Linked DNA regions of Homo sapiens: all the other regions are linked to region 4. Evidence: promoter capture Hi-C in human tissues and cell types (Jung and others, 2019). All regions are on one chromosome and are shown on one strand. The core of a region is centred on a gene start or on the middle of the fragment in contact, and the rest is flanking DNA. Distances in the headings are between cores, read along the strand shown.

The links. Contacts are between HindIII fragments. The study calls those that stand out against the background at their distance.
Region 1: a fragment that was not itself captured here is called in contact with the fragment with the promoter of KLLN in region 4 in 1 of the 25 tissues and cell types used here (lymphoblastoid cells).
Region 2: a fragment that was not itself captured here is called in contact with the fragment with the promoter of KLLN in region 4 in 1 of the 25 tissues and cell types used here (mesenchymal stem cells).
Region 3: a contact is called between a fragment that was not itself captured here and the fragment with the promoter of KLLN in region 4, in 1 of the 25 tissues and cell types used here (lymphoblastoid cells).

Annotation. Positions count from the first base shown.
Region 1 is chr10:88,596,807-88,599,977 of GRCh38, forward strand. LIPJ (lipase family member J) reads left to right here. Exons shown (of 11, transcript NM_001010939.3): 8 at 1-130. Among named protein-coding and RNA genes, the nearest start is that of LIPJ, 12 kb to the left of the region's middle. RefSeq lists an enhancer at 1,552-1,691. The HindIII fragment of the contact is 3,756 bases long and covers 1-3,171 here.
Region 2 is chr10:88,452,850-88,456,068 of GRCh38, forward strand. The region is part of intron 4 of RNLS (renalase, FAD dependent amine oxidase); the gene reads right to left. Among named protein-coding and RNA genes, the nearest start is that of RNLS, 130 kb to the right of the region's middle. The HindIII fragment of the contact is 6,199 bases long and covers 1-3,219 here.
Region 3 is chr10:88,477,188-88,480,495 of GRCh38, forward strand. The region is part of intron 4 of RNLS (renalase, FAD dependent amine oxidase); the gene reads right to left. Among named protein-coding and RNA genes, the nearest start is that of RNLS, 100 kb to the right of the region's middle. The HindIII fragment of the contact is 3,732 bases long and covers 1-3,278 here.
Region 4 is chr10:87,862,266-87,865,317 of GRCh38, forward strand. It overlaps KLLN (killin, p53 regulated DNA replication inhibitor), which reads right to left and starts at 1,268. Exons shown (of 1, transcript NM_001126049.2): 1 at 1-1,268. The coding sequence starts at 222. MLDHR (mitochondrial lactate dehydrogenase regulator) reads left to right here and starts at 1,294. Exons shown (of 1, transcript NM_001433720.1): 1 at 1,294-1,389. The coding sequence starts at 1,294. The coding sequence ends at 1,389. PTEN (phosphatase and tensin homolog) reads left to right here and starts at 1,360. Exons shown (of 9, transcript NM_000314.8): 1 at 1,360-2,283. The coding sequence starts at 2,205. RefSeq lists enhancers at 1-84, 335-514 and silencers at 1,115-1,424, 1,515-1,654. The HindIII fragment of the contact is 9,209 bases long and covers 1-3,052 here.

The DNA.
Region 1 (3,171 bases), core at 245-2,744, 730 kb after region 4:
AGACTTCTTGCCTAAAACCTCATTTAAAAAATTCATTGGTTCAAAGCTGTGTCCACTACAGATTTTTGATAAGATTTGCCTCAATATCTTGTTTATGATGTTTGGATATGACCCAAAAAACTTAAATATGGTAAGAACAAGTTGTATTTGAAATATATATATTTTCCAATATTTGGAAAGTATAATAATAATAGTGCTTGTGTTATACCTTGTGTCATTTTGTGTTTCATCCACATACACTAGTAGTCAGATTCTTAGCCTATCTGATTTTATGACTACACCAACATTGTACAACTAACTTGCATGAACATGCTGGGATTATTTTACTTCCATATTTGTCTTGCTGTCTGTAAATATTCGAGAGCAGCTGATGTGATGGGTATCTTTATTGACCTTTGCTATTGGGTATTAGTTTCCTGAGACTTCTAAGATTTAGGTCCTCTTCTATTCATTTGTTTCCTGTAACTCCATAACTGCTCCTCCTGGTTCCTAATACTCCTTCCTATCCTTGTTGATCCTTCCATAATTAGAATTAGTGCCTTCCAATTATCTTTAAGTTTCTAGCTTTTATCAATACTCTTGGAGTGGGAAACTATTGTGGTACTCAAGGTACTATTACCAAAACCTTTGGATTGATTGTGTATAGGTTCTCTTAAGAATATAGGCATTCATTCTAAGTGTTTTTCATCACATTAAATTAAACATCCAGATTTGGCAGAAGCAAATGTGCCATTTGGACTAGAGGTTGGTTCTTGTACCTGGACCTTTTAAGAGCTTCTCAAAGAGAGCCAATATAGACATTCAAAGAAAGATAGGTATTCTCTTAATTCCCAAACACATTTTTATGCCACAAGGACATGTTTGTTGACTTTGTTGATTTTGTTCAACCTTACTTTATTTTTAGAATGCTATAAGAAACTCAGTTCTCGTCTTTTCCACCCATAAAGATATGAGAAGGCAGAAAGGATTACTTTCATATTCCCTCTTTTTCATATTTTTCTGTTCATCTAGTGCTAAGCACCTACTATGAGGGGCCTGGAAGAATCATAAATACAATGTTTATTTTTACTTATCCACTCATTCTATGTTTTAGGTAGTATATTTGGCCAATTCTATATTTTTTTGTAATTATAATGTGATGTCTCTGAGAACTCTTTTTTGTGTATAAATTATTAGAAAAGCTTACACTCTGGTTTTCTAGCCTCCAAAACTGTGGCATTTCTTCTGCAACAGAAGTTGACAGTGTTGTAGATTGTAATATGACTGTGTCTTAATTTAGCTGAAATTGTAGGAAGTTGGAAGTAGAAAATTTTCACGCACAGTGTGTTTGGAAATAGTTAATTGTGAAACTGTGGTTCAGCTTGAATCAGTCTCTTGAGCCTAGCAAGATCTGTGGAGGAAGTAGGGTCTGGCTTAAAATTATTTGCTTAGAGCCAGTATGAAAAACCAAAAGAGAATCTGGTAGTTTGTGAAAAGGCAGTGAGTGGAATCTGACTGATGTCACTCAGGTGTGGAAAACCAACCAGAGAATTGAAAGCAAGTCATGAGAACTGAAAGCAAGTCATGATGCAAGAAAAAACAGATGATAAAAATGCTCACAATGTGACTTGGAAAATGTATCATCAAACAACCAAAGTTTTGACCTTGTCCAGGTGTTACAATTTTTTGGTGATGATTTACAAAAAGAAATTCTAACTCTTATGAGGGGAAATGAGGCTGAGATATCTGAGTGCAGCTGTCAAGGGTGTGTGATTATTATTTAGGTCCCTTTCAGGGAATGGATTCCTTCTTATCTTTCTGATAAAGGTGAAGTAGAGACTCTGGTAAACATTTCATATTGCTCACAGATAGGCCTGACAGGTGTTTATGAAAGCTACTGTGCACTTCTTCATCCAGAAGGATGAACAGAACAGTGCGATTTGGGTTGTATAAGCCTCTGACCTACATTAAGGTAAACAGTAGTGACCCATGATGGAAGGAATATCTGGAGTGTACCAGAAAACTAAGCATTATATTGGAGCTTATTTCAAATACAGAGAAGAATTATAATTAGAGGACATAATAAATACCTGAGTTTTAATTTATACCTGAGTTTAAATTTATATAATTTAATTATATTTAATAATATAATATTTTATATTGTATTTAATAATATAATATATTATATTATTACAATAATATAAAATATTATATTATATTATAATAATATATTATATTAATTTAATATATAGAGGACATGATAAATACCTGAGAAGAATGTTTCTGTTAAAAATTTCTGTACAGGCTATTTAAAATTGTTCAGTCAGAACTTTATTTTTGACAGTTTCAAGTAGCCTGAATGGCAATGGAAACAAAAGAAATTTTCTCTCTTTTTATTGAGGTACAATTGACAAATAAATACATTGTGAAATAATTGCCACAATCAAGTTTAACACATCTATCACCTCACATAGTCATATTTTTGGTGATAATGCTTAAGATCTATTCTCTTAACAAATTTCAAGTATACAGTACAGTATTATTAGCTAGTCACCATCCTGTACATTAAATCCTCAAAATGTATTTACTATATAACTGAAAGTTTATACCCTTTGACCACCATGTCCCCATTTTTCCCACCTGCCAGACCCTGGCAACCACCATTTTACTCTGTTTCTATGAGCTCACTCTTTTATTTATTTATTTATTTAAGATTCTACGTAGGAGTGATACCATACAGTACTTGTCTTTCTCTATTTGGCTTATTTAACTTACTAGTACCCTCCAGGTTCATGTATGCTGTCACAAATGGCAGAATTTTTTCTTTTCTATGGTTGATTAATATTCCACAGTGTGTATGTATGTATATATATACACATACATTTATATATACATACATATATACACACACACACACACACACACATATATATATATACACATCTTCAATCTGATGAGTCAATTTTTATGGTTTTTTTTGTTCTTATTGTTCCTCAAAGATATTTTAAAGCTTGTCTTTTATGTCTTCAGTTATAGTATTAACAATATTTTCATTTGACAATCTTTGCCTTTTAATTGAATTACAGTATTTAGTAAATTTATTTTTATATAATTATTAAGATTAGATTTATGGCTATCATCCTGCTATATGCTTTTTGTTTGTCCTATCTGGTATTCTTTTTATTTCACATT
Region 2 (3,219 bases), core at 517-3,016, 590 kb after region 4:
GGTGTCTCTTGGTACTCTCTTGCTCAATTTTGATGATAAAAATACAAGTTCAGTGTTATGGTCTGAAAAGAATGTGGTGATCATGGGGCTCAAAACCATGTCCAGATCATCCCATATGTAAGCCACCTAAACAGGCAGAGGTGCTAGTTGATGGTGAGGGGAATTCTGAATGGTTGGATAGTGGAGGAGAAGGATAATGAGTATTTGTTAAGGCCATGAGACCAGCTGCAGTGGCAGGAGCTGTAGCTCATCTCACTAATCCACCTGAAGGCCTAGAACTTATTATAAGAAGCAAGCGGGTATGAATGGTTGCAAGGAGTACACCGTAGTGGATACCATGGAATACTGCCTAAATTTCTACCTCCAAAACTATAGTACTTACACCTCCAGCTGCAGGAAGTTTTAGAAACCAACAGCTCTTAGTGACATTCCCTCTAAGGGTCATATGTTCAGCTCAAGAAAACCGCCTTACCCAAAGTCATGCTCCTTCCCGGCGGTAGCCCACATCCAATGACTGGGTGATAGAAGGGTCTAAAGGCCTGTCCCTTTGCTTCCCATTTAGGGAACTTTAAGGAGTTATTGCAGCTGCAAAGGTCTCACTGGGATCATCAGAGACTTTGTTGTGATTGAATGGCAGTTCAAGCTCCCTTCAGCCCAATCCAGTTTCTTTCATTCTCCCATAGGTATCCAGCCAAGAGCATCCCCTCTTCCTGCATGCAAATCTTGTCCAGAGCCTGCTTTCTGGGAAACCTAACCTGTGACAAACATGCTATTTCTGAGTATCTGCAGATCATTCATGTGGAGAAATTTGCTCCTTATTTATGTGTTCTCTGCTGGTATTACTCCTTCTACTCTCGTAACAAAGCTGTTAACTAGCATTTTAGAATCACTGATGACATCCTTTCTTTCTAAGTTCTTCCTCTAAATTTCCTGGTTTGATCTGAGTTTTCTTATTTAGTGCTTTCAAAATATTCTTGAGTATTACCACTGCACTCTGTTTATATTACCTGTTTTTTAACAGCAGAGACTCTTTGTATTCTCACTGTTTACTATGACACAGTAACTTGTTGAATATTTGTGGAATTAAAAACAAACAAGAACATATTGATCTAGAATATGAATAGTGATCTGGTTGGCAATATCAATTTCACAGAGTTATTGGAATACAGACTAGAAACTATGGGAGTGGATGAGATTCCTGATGGATTATGGGTAGAATTAGAAGAGAAGATAGCTTATCACAGAACCCTGAGAAATACCAACACTTATGGGCTGAAAAGAGAAGAAAGAGTCCATGAAAGAATGGTTGGTGAGAGAAGAGATAATCCTGGAAGCCTAGGGTAGAAAGAAATTCAAGAAAGATGTATTCAACAGAGTCAAATAACAAATTGAGTATCAAATAAAACAAATGACTATCAGATTTGATAATTAGGAGGCCTTGGTGCCATTTTCCAGCCATATTTTGATGGCATTGTGGGAGGAAATATACAGGATCAATTTTGTATGTAGATCCACCTTTTCCCTTAGGTAGTTGCTGTATCCATGTCTGGAGAAGTCAGAGGAAGCATGGACTTCAGCTTCCTGTTTAAGCCATGTTCTCACATCCCATTTTAGCAGGGGCTTTGTTCTTTAGGAGTCCACAGGGTTCCATTAATAATGCTGTGATATCCACTTGGCTCTTTGTATCTGTTAGAATTTATAAATGGCAGGTAAATGATTATGACCTTCAAACCTCCAACAAGGTCAACTCCTTACTGAAAGTTATAAAGCCTAACCAACAATTACCCAGAGCTCAAATAAACCAGAGGTGCTTAAGTCACTCAGGGGAAACATATTAAAGTCAATTACAACTCAATCTGGGTAGATTTATCAGACATCTTTCCCCTGTGACCAAAGAGGCAAGAAGTAGAACTTGTTCCAAAGTGTGGGGATAAACGTAGGGGTGTATGGAGGTCTGGTAGATAACACAGAAGCAAGGAGAATAGATGATTCCTGCCTATTCCCCTAAGAGTTAGTTAAGCAAGTCTGGACATATTTCCTGAATTGGAACTATTTGATCTATATAAATACTCATTTTTATTCAATTCAACAGCTATTTATTGAATACTGTTATCTGTCAGGCAGATAACAGATATACTAGGAACTGAGAAACAAGATTGAAAGAATAAAAACAAGCATAAAAATAAACAACATATGTTCTGTTCTCAAGAAGTTCACAGACTAGTAGCTAGAGAAGCACACAAACTGCCATATAATTTCAAAGGCACTGTGAGAGTAGTATGTACTAAGTACTATGGAGCCACAGAGAAGTGGGCAATTCAGCCAGCCTTAGGAAGAAGGTATAACCAGGATGGCTACAGGTGTGGATGTATCTCTTGCAGGTTGATTGGAATGATGGACAATCAAAGTAAAGGGAAAAAAAAATCAATTGCTTTCTAGAAAATTTATAGAAATAAACGTTCCAAACCTACTAGGGCAACTAGTTCAGATATTTAAAAACCCATGCAAGCAAGGAATTCTTCCTGTAATTACCTCTAACTACATGGCCTTATAATTAATTTTTTTGTTTTGTTTTGAGACAGAGTCTTGCTCTGTTGCCCAGGCTGGAGTGCAGTGGTGCGATTTCGGCTCACTGCAAGCTCCACCTCCCGGGTTCACGCCATTCTCCTGCCTCAGCCTCCCGAGTAGCTGGGACTACAGGCACCCATCACCACACCCAGCTAATTTTTTGTATTTTTAGTAGAGACAGGGTTTCACCGTGTTAGCCAGGATGGTCTTGATCTCTTGATCTCGTGATCCGCCTGCCTCGACCTCCGAAAGTGCTGGAATTACAGGCGTGAGCCACCACGCCTGGCCTGTAATTAATTTTAAATCCTCCCTTTTCTCTTTTTCCTCATGAGAAAAAACTGGGAACAGATAGTCAACACAGTATTTACATTTCTGTTAGAAAAAACTCCCAGTGACTTGGTTATTTCCCACAAAACAAAACAAAACAAAACAAAAATCGCTTTATCCCAATGCATGCCCACTCATCATTTGATCTTTTTGTTTTAAAATGAATAGTAATCTACCTCCATTAAAAGCCTCCCAAGAGGACTTAGCTCCAGTGAGCATCGAACAGTTTTAACTGATGGGCTCAAGGGATGGAAGAAGCTGGATGAGATGTCAGCAAGAACATTCTTTGACAAAACCCAGTCCTAAGCCAAATTCTTAAGATTT
Region 3 (3,308 bases), core at 163-2,662, 620 kb after region 4:
CAATAACCATTCAAAGACTGTTCCATGTGTACATCTGCCCTATGGAGAAAGTGCAAAGTGCTGATATTCAGGACTTGCTCACAGAAAAACTGACGAAGGAACAACAAAGCAGGTGCCTTGATGGTATGAGCAAGATGATAAGGATGATGGTGAAGTTAGGGATGAAGGTGACAATGGGATGTCAGTTATGATGGTGATGACCGGGATGACAGGGAAGGAGAGAAAGATGGTGAAGACAGAGATAATGATGATGGGGATGACAGCGATGGTGGGGATGACAATGGGGAAGAGGATGATGGTGACAACAGCAACGCTGATGTAAACACTGACAATTGTGATGATGGTGAAGACAGGGATGATGGTGAAACAAGGATGGCAACGATGACAAGGATGATAGTGATGACAGGGATGACAGAAATTTGAAGACTGTGGAAGACAATAACAGTGGTATGTGACAGATAACACTGATCATCTTCTGTGTGCTTGACACTAGGCTAAAGGCTTCACATGCATCATCCCCCTTAATTTCCATGACCTTCCTATGAGGTGGGTGCTATCATGATCTTTGTTTCACATCTAAGAAGCTTCAGAATGATAGAGGGTAAGTATTTTGCCAAGTTCACACAGCTGTCCAGAGCAGGAGCTGATATGGCCCAAGTTCTGCCTGACTCTAGAGGACACACTGTTCATTACTAAGCTATGACACCAACTACTATGCAATACTAGCTGGAGGTTCACAGTATGTGTCTGTTGAATGCAATCATGCATGGAATCTTATGAGGCCATATGGCCCAGTGCCTATTTCAGATAGATTAACATTTATCCTGGATAGATTTTTATCTGGTAACTTCTTAAAAGTAAAGAATTATTAAAACTTAAGATTAGCTGTCTCAGGACCTACTGTGGATTGAAGTCAACTATCAACAAGGACTTTAAAATCCATTCCAAAATGGCTCTCATGTTATCTTTCAAACATTTAAAAAACATTTACTTTCTCCTACCTAAATGCATTCCTTGTCCCAGTTTCTTGGTGCCAGTTATTCTAATCTCCCAAGTTTCTTAGGCTTGAAAACGCGAGCCCATCTGACTCCCCACTTTCTCTTATTCCTTCTATCCAGTTAGTATCTGATATTTGGTAATATGTCTTCAACATTTCTGTCAGATTCATCATTTCATTTTTAGGCCCACTCCTAGCTTGCCAGTATTTTATCACCTCAGGGCCAATTGCTAATTTTAACCAGATGGCTGGGTTTCATTATGACACATGATCCCTCACTACCTATCATCTCAAGTTCAAATACCTCACTCTGTTATTAAAGATCCCTTTATATGTGGCCCTACCTTATCCCACATATACCTCTAGTCATCAAAGCATGCCTGGGCAGGTTGGTATACTTGAAGTCTCTCCACTGTCCCCCCAGATAAAAAATAAACCCACAAGACACAGGGCTTATCCATCCTCAACTGCCCTTTCCAGCTTCCGTTCACTCGAAATATGCTCTGCTCATTCCCATACAACTTATAATATACTCTGTACCATTTTCTGGCACACAAACCCATCACTTTAAGGATACTGAAGCTACTTGTTCAAACTGGTTCAAAATGACTTTTCCCTTTTCCTGACTTCACATAGCCTTAACTAATTTACCTTTTTTTCTTTTTCCTTCTTTCTTTCATTTCTTTCTTTCTCTTTCTTTCTTTCTTTCTCTTTCTTTCTTTCTCTCTCTCTCTCTTTCTGTCTGTCTCTCAAGCCATGCTGAGGAGCCCAAGTACCTGGGTTTGAATCCTAGTTCTGTCATTAACTAGGTACTATTTCTTCATCTGTAAGATGAGGATGATAGTAGCTACTTCATAGGGTTGTTGTGAAGACTAAATGAACATATAGTGATCAACAATCATTTGCTAAAACTATTATAGAACATTAAATATGTTTCAGTCTTGTTTCTTCTTTGTATATCCTAGCATGGCATCTGAAAACATATTAAGCATATAACAGGTATTCAACAACCTCTTGTTGCCTTTAATTATATCAGAGCGAAAAGTCAATGGCTTTGCTTTGAGGCCAATATTCCCTTACTTGGATCATGAAGCATCGTTACATAGAATTCCTATAATTTTAGGAAGACAAATAAACCTTGGCAGCTAGAGTGTTGCAAATCATTTTCATGTTTCCACCTGAAGCAGTAAGTAGGACACATTTTAATAGCACTGTTTTCATCTGAGGAAAATTATATACAGTTTTCTATTCTGAAAAATGGAGCTAATTTAAGTATTCACCACATAATATGATTATGAAGTTAAATAAGACAACCCATGTAAATGGTAAGCATTAGTCCTCTATAAATATTAGTGTCAATTTTAGAAATATCAGTATCATCATCATCATCATCATCATTGGATTTGTCTAAGCAAAGACGACCTTGAACTAGAAATAACAGCTGTTGATTCTTAGCCTAGTTTTAAAAATTATGCTGCCATCTCTTAGCCTTTCCCATTTTCAGAAAAGTAACCCAAATTCCTTTTATTTGCCCTTTTGAAGGACCTATTTTCCATTCATGACTTTTTCATATCAGCCATTCTTCTCTGGACTTTCTTTTCTTTTTTTCTTTTTTTTTTTTTTTAAGTTCCTACTTTCTAAAAGGTATAGTAGAAAAAAATCCAGATGCAACATATGAATACAAATTTACCAAAAGATCATAATAAAAAGATTCTTCCTTAAAACTTGTATGTCACACTCTTTTTAAATAAACTCTTGCATTGTATTAGTTCTCTGCACAAGCTCACATTCATCAAGTGTTTGCCTATTAGTTTGAGCTCTTTCTGTGAAACTTAAACTTACTCAGTCTTGGTCTATCATATTCTTAAATTACTGAGTTTTTGCATTGTACTTGGCTTGCCAGAACTTCATCTAATTTGCATAGGCCTATTTTCCTATTTAATAACATATTTTAAATTTTACTTCTACCTTTGAGACAATCTTAGAAATGTCACCTCATACAGGACCTTTAACTCTAGTAAGCATATTCCACGTTCCTTTACCTAGGTAATCAATTAAGTACAAGTTCTTAGACATAGCTTTAGGCTGAATTTGAGAGGTTCTTCAAAGTTGAAAACCTCTGATAATTACCCCTTAGGGGAAATCTTTAGTCTAATTTATTGTTTCCTGAGATTCTTATAAGATCATAAGTCAAGTTTCTCCTTCCCTAAGATTTATGGGAAACTACAGTCAAATTCATACTTTTCTTTTTTTTGAGACGGAGTCTCACTCTTGTTGCCTAGGCGGGAGTGCAATGGTGCAACCTTGGCTC
Region 4 (3,052 bases), core at 18-2,517:
GGAAAGTTCCCCAACTAGGGACACACGTGACCTCCTTCGGAAAGTAGTTCCGACTGTGGCCCGTGTATCCTTCCACCTCCTTTTGAACCCTCCTAGGTCTCCTCGCCCCGCCCACTCGCTGGGCTGCAGCTTCCTACCGTTCCGTACTTTCCACTCAACCCGGTAACCCCAAACGTGCACGGTCCGGCCGGGGCGCGCGGAGCCTGGCCCCGGGCGATCCATCCTGCCGGGTTTTCACGGCGGCCAAGGGGGGGCGGGGCTAGGTGGTCTCTGAGAACCGAGCTTGACTCCGACGCCGCGAACCGACCTGGAGCCCGAGGGGAAAGATGCTCGACTCTCTTGGGGGCACCGGAGCGGGCGCAGGAGAGGCCTGCGGGGTGCGTCCCACTCACAGGGATCCTCTTTCAGTTCATTTAGATAGGTGCCCTTTGGGCCCTTGAAATTCAACGGCTATGTGTTCACGTTCAGCACGCTCGGCTGAGAGCTTTCATTTTTAGGGCAAACGAGCCGAGTTACCGGGGAAGCGAGAGGTGGGGCGCTGCAAGGGAGCCGGATGAGGTGATACACGCTGGCGACACAATAGCAGGTTGCTCTTTGTGCTAAGACTGACACCATGAGGACACAGATTTGGGGGAAGGGGGAATCTCTAGGCAAAGGCTGTTACAGTCAAATCTCTGCGAACGATTGTGATCCGACAGCGGTGCAAAAGGAAAGAGCGAATGCAGTCCACGCCGCGGAAATCTAGGGGTAGAGGCAAGGGGGGAGGGTATTCCCCTTGCAGGGACCGTCCCTGCATTTCCCTCTACACTGAGCAGCGTGGTCACCTGGTCCTTTTCACCTGTGCACAGGTAACCTCAGACTCGAGTCAGTGACACTGCTCAACGCACCCATCTCAGCTTTCATCATCAGTCCTCCACCCCCGCCCCACAACAGCCTACCCTGCCTCCGGCTGGGTTTCTGGGCAGAGGCCGAGGCTTAGCTCGTTATCCTCGCCTCGCGTTGCTGCAAAAGCCGCAGCAAGTGCAGCTGCAGGCTGGCGGCTGGGAACCGGCCCGAGCAAGCCCCAGGCAGCTACACTGGGCATGCTCAGTAGAGCCTGCGGCTTGGGGACTCTGCGCTCGCACCCAGAGCTACCGCTCTGCCCCCTCCTACCGCCCCCTGCCCTGCCCTGCCCTCCCCTCGCCCGGCGCGGTCCCGTCCGCCTCTCGCTCGCCTCCCGCCTCCCCTCGGTCTTCCGAGGCGCCCGGGCTCCCGGCGCGGCGGCGGAGGGGGCGGGCAGGCCGGCGGGCGGTGATGTGGCGGGACTCTTTATGCGCTGCGGCAGGATACGCGCTCGGCGCTGGGACGCGACTGCGCTCAGTTCTCTCCTCTCGGAAGCTGCAGCCATGATGGAAGTTTGAGAGTTGAGCCGCTGTGAGGCGAGGCCGGGCTCAGGCGAGGGAGATGAGAGACGGCGGCGGCCGCGGCCCGGAGCCCCTCTCAGCGCCTGTGAGCAGCCGCGGGGGCAGCGCCCTCGGGGAGCCGGCCGGCCTGCGGCGGCGGCAGCGGCGGCGTTTCTCGCCTCCTCTTCGTCTTTTCTAACCGTGCAGCCTCTTCCTCGGCTTCTCCTGAAAGGGAAGGTGGAAGCCGTGGGCTCGGGCGGGAGCCGGCTGAGGCGCGGCGGCGGCGGCGGCACCTCCCGCTCCTGGAGCGGGGGGGAGAAGCGGCGGCGGCGGCGGCCGCGGCGGCTGCAGCTCCAGGGAGGGGGTCTGAGTCGCCTGTCACCATTTCCAGGGCTGGGAACGCCGGAGAGTTGGTCTCTCCCCTTCTACTGCCTCCAACACGGCGGCGGCGGCGGCTGGCACATCCAGGGACCCGGGCCGGTTTTAAACCTCCCGTGCGCCGCCGCCGCACCCCCCGTGGCCCGGGCTCCGGAGGCCGCCGGCGGAGGCAGCCGTTCGGAGGATTATTCGTCTTCTCCCCATTCCGCTGCCGCCGCTGCCAGGCCTCTGGCTGCTGAGGAGAAGCAGGCCCAGTCGCTGCAACCATCCAGCAGCCGCCGCAGCAGCCATTACCCGGCTGCGGTCCAGAGCCAAGCGGCGGCAGAGCGAGGGGCATCAGCTACCGCCAAGTCCAGAGCCATTTCCATCCTGCAGAAGAAGCCCCGCCACCAGCAGCTTCTGCCATCTCTCTCCTCCTTTTTCTTCAGCCACAGGCTCCCAGACATGACAGCCATCATCAAAGAGATCGTTAGCAGAAACAAAAGGAGATATCAAGAGGATGGATTCGACTTAGACTTGACCTGTATCCATTTCTGCGGCTGCTCCTCTTTACCTTTCTGTCACTCTCTTAGAACGTGGGAGTAGACGGATGCGAAAATGTCCGTAGTTTGGGTGACTATAACATTTAACCCTGGTCAGGTTGCTAGGTCATATATTTTGTGTTTCCTTTCTGTGTATTCAACCTAGGGTGTGTTTGGCTAGACGGAACTCTTGCCTGGTTGCAAGTGTCAAGCCACCGATTGCTTTCTTAGGCTATCTATATGGTCTCTTCCTGAGGGCTATTGTCCGTTAATACAGAATACAGTACACTGTTAGTGGATTAGCGAGCTCGGTAATCCGGTCTCCTAAATGAACAAAAAAGTAGACGCTTTTTGAGGTTGAGCATATTTCGATTAAATCTTGGCTTAGGCCCTAGATCAAGGGTTTAGATCAGAATAAAATGAAAATTAGTGTTGCACGTACGCATATTGCATCAGAATCTTGCAGTGATTGTTTTAGTTTCCTGAGTTGCATTGATAGATTCTTTTAAAATATGACTGATTTGCATAACTTTAGAAGCAGAATCATTTTCAGTATATATGGTGCACATTGAGGGCAAAAAGTAGTTTTGTTAATGTTTAAACTTAAGTTACCTACAACTTTGAACTGTATGTAGAAGTTTTGTAGTTTGAAGTCAATAGTGCCATAATATACCTTATAAGGCGTTCTTACTAGATCTTTGTTATATTTACCTTTTTCTCTCCCTATGGGGTGATGTAGGATAGTGCTTGAAATTTGCACTTCAGTAGCAT